Linked DNA regions of Homo sapiens: region 1 is linked to region 2. Evidence: promoter capture Hi-C in 16 types of primary human blood cells and fetal thymus (Javierre and others, 2016). All regions are on one chromosome and are shown on one strand. The core of a region is centred on a gene start or on the middle of the fragment in contact, and the rest is flanking DNA. Distances in the headings are between cores, read along the strand shown.

Region 1 (5,369 bases), core at 734-3,233, 520 kb before region 2:
TGGGGATGAGGAAGGTAGAGGAAAAGAGAAAGCGGCCAAACAATGGTTTGGTTGGGCTGTGTTTCAGAGTATACCACCCTTTAAAATTCTGATCAAATACTCTTGACCCATAAACCCTTAGCCCTTGTTCTGATGGGGTAGCCACAGGAGTCCACCAGCTGGGAATCATCCACTGAGCTCTGGATCAGAGCATTCTAGAGGCTGGAATGTCGGGGGAGTTTTAGGGGTAGTTTTCCGGTCATTCCTAAAACCATCCGTCCTAACTCCCAGGCAGGTTTAAATAGTGCAAACTCTTAGGCAGAGAGCTCCCAGCTGCATAGTTTCACAGGTGAGTGTCCCAAGCCAGGGCCTCCAGGAAACAGGTCCCAGAGTACCCAGGGGTCCAAAGCCACTTCGGTGAATGGAAATCTAAAGGTGAAGAGAGGGGAGGCCAGGGCACAGAGTAAAGCTCCTGGGCTAAGCCAGTGGCCAAGCCAGAAAACAATGCTGGGCAGAAAAGGGTTACAAGGCAGGTAGTCTGGACACTGGATTCAACAGCTTGCCATCAGCCAGGGAAAGTGAAGCTGAGGATGCATATGGAGCAGGGCCAGGAAGATCAGGAGAGCTGAGGGAGAACAGGAAAATTGGGAGGAAGGAAGAGGCAGCTCAGCAGCAAACTCCAGGAGAAATAACCAGCAGCCCTCACAGATTTGTGATTGTCTCTTAAAAAGATTTATTTTCTCTTCTTGCCTGAATGTACAAAGGCAAAAAGAGTACAGTTTGTATATATATATATTTATATATATATATAAAAAAACAAGGAACTTGGTAATGTACACTTTACAGAAGGGAAGAATCAGGAAGACTGAAATTAAATTCAACAGAGCAACGCCAATGGAACAAAATCTATGAACAGCAACACTGCCCCTCCAGCCCGGGCCTCCAGCTCGCCCCAACCTGCTCCCAATGGGAGGGCTGAGCACCAAGGCAAGCGGGTGGGCTGGGGCAGGAGGGGCTGGGGACAGGGCCTGGGAGGGGCTTGATCCCAGGAGGGGGGCCCATGGTAGGAGATCACTGGAAAGCTTCCTGGGATGCCCAAGTAATTAAAACAAACAACAAAGGCCCAGAATTATGGGGCCAACTAGCTGCCCAGTTGCATCTTGGGGGCATCAGAGTAGACAAGGGGATGGTGAGAGGGTATACGGGATAAGTGACATGGGTGGCCTCAAAGCCTGTATGAAATAATTCTCTAGCCCTCTGCAGTCTTAACTCGCAACTCTAAGTCCTGCCATGGCCCCTTAAACGTGGAAAAAAGAGACTCAAGAAATCACCATTTCATTTCATAGGGTGCCCTCTTACCCTTCTAAGCGTGTGGTTCTTTGACCTTGTGATGTGTGGAGAGAGTTCGGTAAGAGAAGGAAATTTCATACATGTACATGTACAAGGCAGGAAAAGGGGATGAAGGGAACTGCCATACCTTAAAATGAGGAAGTAGTTGATGTGGATCCTAAAGAGCAGCTCTCCAAGCCTTGCCTGATCTATCTGGGGATGAGGCCCCCTCCCTCTTTAGCTTCTCCTCTATGGGAAGCCCCGTGAGCAATGTCTGTGAGGGCCTGGGCAGGGGTGGCTCATAAACAGGCTTGGTCTGGTGGTCTTGGCCCTTGGTAGCAAATTTTTCCAGCCTTTGTTTGTGGGGTGGGATAGGATGGGGACCCCTGCTGAGCATCTCATCCCTCTGACTAGGTCATGGATGCCACAGGTAGCTCCCACCTGTGTTTCTCCTCCCCATGTAGAGGTGGGCAGCAAATCTTTCACTCAGCACTTGTCAAGAATCTCCACAGCTGCTGCTTCATGTTATTTCAGAGGGAAGACTAGGCCCGGCAGGCATCAGGATCTGCCATGGTGGCTTTCACCTGCTCTTCTGAGCAGCTCCTACTCTTCAGGGGAGACTTGGATATGAGGATCAAAGAGCCAAATGTTTAAGAAGAAAAATTAAAAAGGAAAAGAAAAACCTGTTCTCTTCTGGAGAACCCAAGGCTGCCCAGCTAATACAGAAGTTCGTCCTCTGTGTTACAGAATGAGTGGAAAGGGCAGGAATGCAGGGCCATGCCTGCCCAATGCAAAAGAAAATTACTCCTAACGGTTTCTTTACAATATATACAGAGTATGCTGCAGGCCAGTGCCACAGATACAAAACACACAACAATATTTAAAAACAAACAGGAACAGAGAGGGAACCTTGGCTCCACCTCACAGGAGCCCCAGGAGGGCATAATCAGGCTGAAATTCAGTCACCCTCTTGGTTGGGGTGACTCAGGTGGGGTGGGATGACGGTGTCTGCACTAGCTACTTCCACGGAGGAAAGGGAGGTCACTGCTCAGAGCACTGCCCATGAGGGCAGCAGAAGGCAGAGGGAATGATGGGTATGAGGGAGGCTGTTTTGGGGCCCTGCCAAGAGGTCTAAAACAATGGTTTTTGGGGAGGACTCAGAACCCAACTTGAACAAAAACGAGGAGGCAGAAACCTAGGGAAAAGGCCTGTAGATCAGAGGGGATCCTCTTGAGCAGATGGTGACCCTAAGCCTCTCAAGTGTAGGGTTCCAGGGTCCTTGGAAATCAACTACTACTGGGCATTGTGCTTACTGTCCCCTATTTCCCATTTTCCAAACTGAGTCGGAGCCAAGTTCCTGCTCCTAGTCACTTTTGGCACTCTGGTCACACACTCCCTTTTCCAGCCTACACTGGTGTCTGTCAGTCTTTATCTCTCTCTCTCAATCCAGAGGGTCATGGAAAGATAGGAGGGGAGAACAGAGGGATGATACCTCAAAAGCCAAGTAAGCTAAGCTCCCCACACCTTGGGGAAGACATGACCCCAATAAAGCTACCAAATCATCCTCACTTTCCCAGTACAAAGAGTATAAAGCTTCCATTGGGAGACTGCATTTCTAAGGAGAGCAGAGAAATGTTGGCTGCCTCAAAGCACAGCTCCACTGAGTACATTCTGAGACTCTAATAAGTAATGGCTTGGATGTGTTATTCCAGGGTCTAAGGAACAAATAACCTCCCATGGCCAGTGGCCCCTCAAACAAAATATGTGTTACCAAGAAACACAGCTTATATTGGCCCACATGGAGGTTATAGACTGAGCTATATAAAATCATGTACTTGTAGACAGAGGAATTGGGCTGTATATATCTGTGGCCTCAAATGAGGAAGATATCAGATGGCTAGATGACAGGACATCTCCAAGAACTGCTGGGTGCTCCCAGGGGCTGCCTTCTGGGCCTTGCCCTAAGGTGACCTGGCAGACTCCAAGGTTCCCCAAGCTGGGGGGAATACTAGTTTATCTGCCTGAGGCTTAAGAGCCAAGCAGTGGAAAAGAAGAGGCAAGACCAGTGTGGGGATCCCCCTGGGAAAGGCACCAAGGGGTTAGGAGGGAAGGGAAAAGGGCAAGGAGTTGGGGAATAAGAAGCAGCAGGACTTAGTGGGGACGCAGGTTCTACTTCACAGACGTCATTCATGCTCCAGCACCAGCTTGCTCCCAGTGTCCCTGGGGAGCCCTGTGCTGGTGTTGGAACCCCTGCCCCCTGCCTCACAGGCAGCTCAAGGCCATGTTGGGGCAGATGCCTTGGTCTTCCTTTCCAGGCTAGGTTGTGAGCGTTTATATGTGCTCATGTAAATGGGGAGAAGTCTCCACATTTGAAGACCTTGTTTTCACAATTATGTAGAAAACAACCCCCAATTTCTTTCCTGAGATTCTAGTTCCTCCACATGCTGCCAATTCCCAGGGTGCAAAGCACTAGGGAGATGCAGAATCTGGTGATGGTGGTAATGATGGTGAGGGGTATGGCTGCTGTGCTGTCTTCAGACCTTACCCAGTGCTTGGGGGTGGGGGTCCCTCCCTGGTGGGCGGGGGGGCTGGTACTGCTCCAGCAGCAGACCAAGGGCTTGGGGAACAGAGCAGTGGCTTCTCTGGGCTGAGGCCATGTTCCCCTGGTTGCTTCCCGTGCCTTCATCTCCACAGAGGCCACAATAGTCATAACTGTGGCTGAGAGAATAAATATTTTTGCTAAGTACCAGCTCTCCAGCTCCTGAGGAAGAGGTAGGGTCAGGTAGTCCGGAGGTCTGGTGGAGGTGAGATAGCCAAGGGTCTGCCTTCAGTCATGGTGGAAACGGCAAACAGGATGATCAACACCATTTAACTGATGTCTAAACGGCACCTTCAGCACCTCCTTGGGTAAGCCAGTCCGGGCCCGTGAAGCTGACTTTATCCGGGCACTTGGTGTCTGCAAGGGAAACATGGACAGATAACCAGGCACTCAGCCTGTTGGTAAAAAAACCACAAGGTGGCACTCCAAGAAAATGAATTGTAGGAGTGGCCAGTACTGGTCCCTAGGGGACACTGTGTTCCACAGGTCCTCTCAGATGCACATGGCTTCACGGGAGACTCTTGTACAAGAGGCTTGGCCAGGGTTCCATGGATTCCAGACTGCTGACCCCTCATAGCTATTTCTCACCTAGGGATTCTGTGATCCAGGTAGCAACTATCCCGGCTTTATGTGTTGCCCCAAATTAATAAAAGTGACTTACCATTCTCACCTCCTGGGGGGTGGGTAGAGTGAGGGAGTTGAGCCTTGTTGGCTGGCAACAATGGCTGTAGAAGAAAGCCCTGAATAAGCAGGAGAACATGTTAGTGTAGCACTCACAGAAACCTTCCATTAATCTTTTTCCCTGAGTTTTGGGGTGCTGACAGAAAAAAAAATCTGATACTCAGCCAGATATATTTGCTGGAGATAGATAATAAGGCTCTATTTCTCAGCTGATTGTTTCTCTTTGCCTTTGGGGAACACCTGTTCCATATTCTTCTGACTATCAAGGCCAGTATTCTGGAGGAATTTAAGAGTCCCCAAACTCCAAGGGAGGAATAAATATCATATGCTTTAATGACTGCAGGAGGTTAGGACTGTGCACAGATTAGAAGCTCAAAAAAAAAAAATTAAAAAAGGATTCTTATGAGGCAGGTAGGAGGGTCCTAGCTGTGGACATTACTACTGGGATGAAGATAAACAAAACAAAACAAGACAAAACAACAGGTGGTAGGGAAAACAGGCTTACCTGCTGCATAGGGTAAGTTGTACTGTGCTGGGAGCAATGAGTACCCCAAGTGGTGGTGGTGGTGGTGTGTGGACATCAGGCGCTGGGAAGGAGAGGTGCGGGGCCGGTCAACACTCCGTTCACCCCCACTTGCTCCCCCGACGCTGCTACAGCTGCCACCACCCCCAACCACCCCACAGCCTCCTCGATCTCTCTCCTGAGAAGTTTTATCACTTATCTGGAAAGGAAACCAGAGACACAAAAGCACTATAGTGAGACACATATGCATACAACCAC
Region 2 (5,039 bases), core at 2,456-4,955:
CAGTTCATGAGCTCCAGACCAAATCCCAGGCCAGCCCTTGCACCAAAAGCCTTTTTTAGAAGGCTTATCAGTCTATTAGGAATGTCTCAGGAAAGATGAGCCATTTCTTTGGGGAGAAATATATTTACAGATGGAAGTGTGTGACTGCGTGTCTGTGTGTGTGTGTGGTGTGTGTGCGCACGTGAGTGCGTGTGTTCATCTATGTGCATTTCACTTCCATAAAGACCCAGCCCAAGCTGCTGGGAACCATGTGTTCCTGAGTATTCTCAGAGGTTAAACAAGTGACAAGTGAGCTTCTGAAATTAGTGTCTCAGCAAGCTGGCTTTAGGAATGAGCCCCATTTTATCAAGCAGAGAAAAAAAATAACAGCAGAAAAGATAAAGATAAACCAAAAATATATACCCCCCAATGGAAAATAATGTTGATTCAGCAATTCCCATAGGATGTATTACATGCTCTAATTTATTATATTATTATTTATCTGTCTTTGATCTTTGCCCATTGTACTCTTAAAAAGATGTTGGGATGTTGATTGCGATTTTTAAACAACTAGATAATGTATAAATCAGCAGTGGAAATCAGTTTTAATGTGTGGATGTGTCTGATTATTGTTAAATGCCTCTTTTTTTACTTTTTTTTTTTTTAGATGTATAATGTTTCATAAACCCTGGCACTGGTCACAAAGCTCAGCTGTGAAAATGAAATTTGTAGTATTTTTAAACATGAATGTCAATTTCAAGTGTATTTGAAATGGTTCCTCCAGGAGAGATATTTGTGCACCATTAGGAAAATCTTCTCTGCAGAGGAAGTAGCCTTCTTTGGAGAAAATGGAAAATGGGTTCTGATATGTGATCTCAGAGTAGCCCATTTCCTAGGGCACCATGGAAAACACAAATGTGATCTTTAAGTATACCTCTTCCCCAGTTTGGGGAGGAAAGGACTCAGTTTGCACCCTTTTTGTATGTAAAATAAAATGTCTTACCTTTCTTGGCTACTTCTGCTTGTTTGGTTGGTTGATTGGTTTGTCTGTTTTTAATCTCCCTCGGCTCATTTGTAATTAACAATCTAGCTAGGACTAACTTTGATGCGATTCAAGACTCCTGTGAACAAAAATAATTTGGCATTCTTGTTTCATTCCTTGGATTAAATATTGTCTTCTCCTGTGAGTCACTTCAAAAATAAATACTGCTGTCTCTCTTCGAGTGCTGAAGAAGAAAATTATTTTTTAATTAAAAAAATAAATATTGGCCAGGCGCAGTGGCTCTCACCTGTAATCCCAGCAACTCCGGGAGGCCAAGGCGGGTGGATCATTTGAGGTCAGGAGTTCGAGGCCAGCCTGGCCAACATGGTGAAACCCTGTCACTACTAAAAATACAAAATTAGTTGGGCGTGGTGGTGCACACCTGTAATCCCAGCTACTCAGGAGGCTGAGGCAGGCCAATTGCTTGAATCCAGGAGGTGGAGTTTGCAATGAGCCAAGATCGCACCACTGTACTCCAGCATGGACGTCAGAGCAAGACTCCGTCTCAAATAAATAAATATTCCTGGAAGAATTTGGACATTATCACTCATACGTTAGTTCCTGGGTCCCTGTTGTTCTCAGGTGGTAGAACACAGGAAATCAGGATCTGCTCTGTGGAACAACTTTAGTAGCTTTATAATTCTCCTCTACAAATGCGGAATATGTGTCCAGACAGAAGATAGAACTATGATGAGCAATGTAAAACCATACTGCATATGTAGCCAACAGAACAACTGTCAATCTGGGCATGATTGACTCCTTCCAGTTTGTTACTACTCTTTAATTACTTTTTCACAGGCAGGTAGCAGTGGAAGAATCATGAGAGAAAAGTTTCACATTGAGAGCATTTTATCCATCAACCTGATTTCTTTTGAAAGTGGGAGTGGGAGAAAGGCTGCTGTGATGCCATTTTAGCCTTAGCTCCTCATGTGCAGGAGGCTACTTGGGTTTTTTGAGTGTTTCTTTGTTTTTGAGACAGGGTGGAGTGCAGTTTCACGATCACAGTACACTGCAGCCTTGACCTTCTGGGCTCAGGTGATTCCCCCACCTCAGCCTCTGGGGTAGCTGCGACTACAGATGCGCACCACCACGCCCTGCTAATTTTTGTATTTTTTGTAGAGACAGGTTTCACCATGTTGCCCAGGCTCAAACTCCTGGACTCAAGTCATCTGCCTGCCACAGCCTCTCAAAGTGCTGGGATTACAGGTATGAGCTACTGTGCCCAGCTGGAGGCTACTTTGAAAACATGATTTAGTAAACATTTTTCTCTGGCTATGGCAGCCTGAGACCAGTGAGTGAAGAAAGAGGCTTAACAAAATAGGAGAAAAAAAAAAAAAAGGGATGAGAGATGGATCTGGAAGATCATCTTTGTCAGTATAACAATGTTTAAAACTTCCTCCTGATTGGGGTTGTCTGAATTGAGGTGCAAGGATGGGAAATAAGAGAACTGTCTTGAAGCTCTACAACCTGTGTAAGGCCGCTGTAATGAACAACAAAGTTAATGCCAGTGGCCTTGCATAACTTCAGTCTCAGGTCAGCGCCTCATGAAGACTACATTGCATAATTTATGTAAATGGAGCCCTGCCTATAATCTGTGCTGTGACGACCTGGAATTTCTACGAAGTTAATCGTTGAAAATTAGTTTTAAAGACGTTTTAACGCCATAGGTCCAAATTTTGGAAGTTTGTGTTTTGGTTTGTTTTGGTGTGTAAGACTCCCAGTACCAAAGTATCTATGTTGTAGATTGGGACAACACTAAGTGTGTGAAGACCTAAAATAGCCCTGTGGGGACATCTAGTAACTATTCCTGACCTCCGGAAAAAGGCATTGTATCCTCAGGCCGTGGCATAAATTATTTCTCATGTCAGTGCGGATGTGAAGCTATCCCAACCAGGACTTGTTGGGCACTCAGTACTGCCGCGCTGTGAGGGAGCTGTGGACAGAGTAAATGCAACACAGTCCCTTCCGCAGAAAAAAAAAAAAATGTAGTCTATTGGGGGAAAAGGTAAAGGAAGTTAAGAACAGCGTATACAATAAGATGTCCATTGATATACACAACAGTAAGCACAGCAAGATTACAGAAGGGAGAGAAAAATGGGTAGTAACTTGACGGCCTCAGTAAAAAAGGAAGTGGGTTGTGCAGCAAGTTTTGCAAGACAAGTGGAGGAGCCGTACAAGGCCACGCTCGGTAAGGATAAATGTCCCTGAAGTGTTTGGAAGCCACAACGTTTAGAGCCAATTTGGCGGTGACAAACACTTGACTGGCCCAAAACAGTGACAAGCTTCCCGTGCCCCTTGTCCAGGCCCACGTATTTGCTAACCTCAAGCGCCAGCTACCGCAGGCCAGTGGAACAGCGCTCCGGGCGGGGCGGGCCGCGGAGCATGCCGGGGCTTGTGGTCTTCTCGGAGCCCGGGCCCGTGCTCTGCGAGGCCGCCTTCCGCCGGTGGCCTTCCTGTGGGCGGGAGAGGGCGGCCGGGAGCCCAATGAGGGAGCAATAACGTGGCAACCACCCACGAGCCCGCGTCGGTGCCCGCCCCGCAGGGGGACCTACTATCCGGCGCCGAGCCGGAGGGGGGAAACGGCGCCCGCCGCCCGCCCGGAGCCCGCGAGCAACCCCAGTCCCCCCCACCCGCGCGTGGCGGCGCCGGCTCCCTAGCCACCGCGGCCCCACCCTCTTCCGGCCTCAGCTGTCCGGGCTGCTTTCGCCTCCGCCTGTGGATGCTGCGCCTCTCCGAACGCAACATGAAGGTGCTCCTTGCCGCCGCCCTCATCGCGGGGTCCGTCTTCTTCCTGCTGCTGCCGGGACCTTCTGCGGCCGATGAGAAGAAGAAGGGGCCCAAAGTCACCGTCAAGGTCCGGTGGAGTCCGCGGCATTTACGGTGCCGGAGCTCGGGCCCGGGCGGCCTTGGCTTGGCCTTGGCTCAGCCCCTCCTCCCTCGGCTTCTGTCTGTGGCCTCGTGGCGTCTGGGCCGTCCTGCCCATTCAGTCCAGGGAACGACCCGGACCCACCCCGACACCCCCAGCCCCTGCCCTGACCCAGGGAGTTAGTTGGATCCCCGGATACCCATCTGGGGCCGACACTGGCAGTCTCAGAGCAGGCTTTTTGCAAACACCCCTCAGTGCTGGGGAGATGGTGAAAGATCACGCCTGCCGGATTCCGAATCCTTTCTCTCCTTAAGCCAAATTTTAGCCACTTCCAATTACAAAGCACAGTATGTATACTTCAAACTTAAGTGGTGAACTTAGGCTCCGCTCCTTATGGGTTTTCTAATGTTAATTTTTAGAATCTGGGTCCATTAGCTGTTTAGAGCAAATATTGTTATCCTGTAGTCCAAGGAGGGTATAGATAAGCATGTTTTCCAAGAAAAGGGTCTGGAGCTTTCATTAGATTCTCATAGGATTTTTACCGTCACCAAAATCAGATTCAGAACCACTTCTCTAAAAATATGGCTCTATTCTCTCTCCCATCCTCAGGTTAGCTTCTTGTACCTTCCCTCCCCTAGCAACGCCCCTTTAAAGAAGCTAAGTTGGAAATGGTCTCTTTCCTCAGGTGTATTTTGACCTACGAATTGGAGATGAAGATGTAGGCCGGGTGATCTTTGGTCTCTTCGGAAAGACTGTTCCAAAAACAGTGGATAATTTTGTGGCCTTAGCTACAGGAGAGGTAAGTGGCTGGAGCAGGGGTAGTCAACTCACATGAAGTGAAATTGGCACTGGGGATGGCAGCAAACTGACCTGCAGAGTTCAGCCGATCTGTAGCGTGGACCTCACTGAGCACCGACTGCCTGTTGCCCTGGGAACACAGTATTGCCCTTTCTTAAGAGTAATGGGGCCCTGACCAGGCACAGTGGCTCACACTTAAAATCCCAGCACTTTTGGAGGCCAAAGTAGGAGGATTGCTTGAGCCCAGGAGTTCAAGGCCAACCTGAGCAACATAGCAAGACCCTGTCTCTACCCCCGCAAATTTTTTTTTTTTTTTGAGACGGAGTTTCACTCTTGTCGCCTGGGCTGGAGTGC

Evidence for each region. Contacts are between HindIII fragments. The CHiCAGO score rates a contact against its expected background, and 5 or more counts as called.
Region 1: a contact is called between a fragment that was not itself captured here and the fragment with the promoter of PPIB in region 2, in 2 of 17 cell types (megakaryocytes and erythroblasts). The highest score is 5.2, in megakaryocytes.

Annotation. Positions count from the first base shown.
Region 1 is chr15:64,680,587-64,685,955 of GRCh38, reverse strand. It overlaps ZNF609 (zinc finger protein 609), which reads right to left. Exons shown (of 10, transcript NM_015042.2): 8 at 5,094-5,310; 9 at 4,569-4,647; 10 at 1-4,264. The coding sequence ends at 4,574. Among named protein-coding and RNA genes, the nearest start is that of OAZ2, 20 kb to the left of the region's middle. RefSeq lists an enhancer at 1-414. The HindIII fragment of the contact is 1,840 bases long and covers 1,064-2,903 here.
Region 2 is chr15:64,161,688-64,166,726 of GRCh38, reverse strand. PPIB (peptidylprolyl isomerase B) reads left to right here and starts at 3,705. Exons shown (of 5, transcript NM_000942.5): 1 at 3,705-3,875; 2 at 4,573-4,686. The coding sequence starts at 3,741. CSNK1G1 (casein kinase 1 gamma 1) reads left to right here. Exons shown (of 12, transcript NM_022048.5): 12 at 1-1,202. RefSeq lists enhancers at 3,191-3,240, 3,347-3,847, 3,791-4,040, 3,848-4,348, 4,582-5,039 and a silencer at 3,381-3,740. The HindIII fragment of the contact is 3,002 bases long and covers 3,306-5,039 here.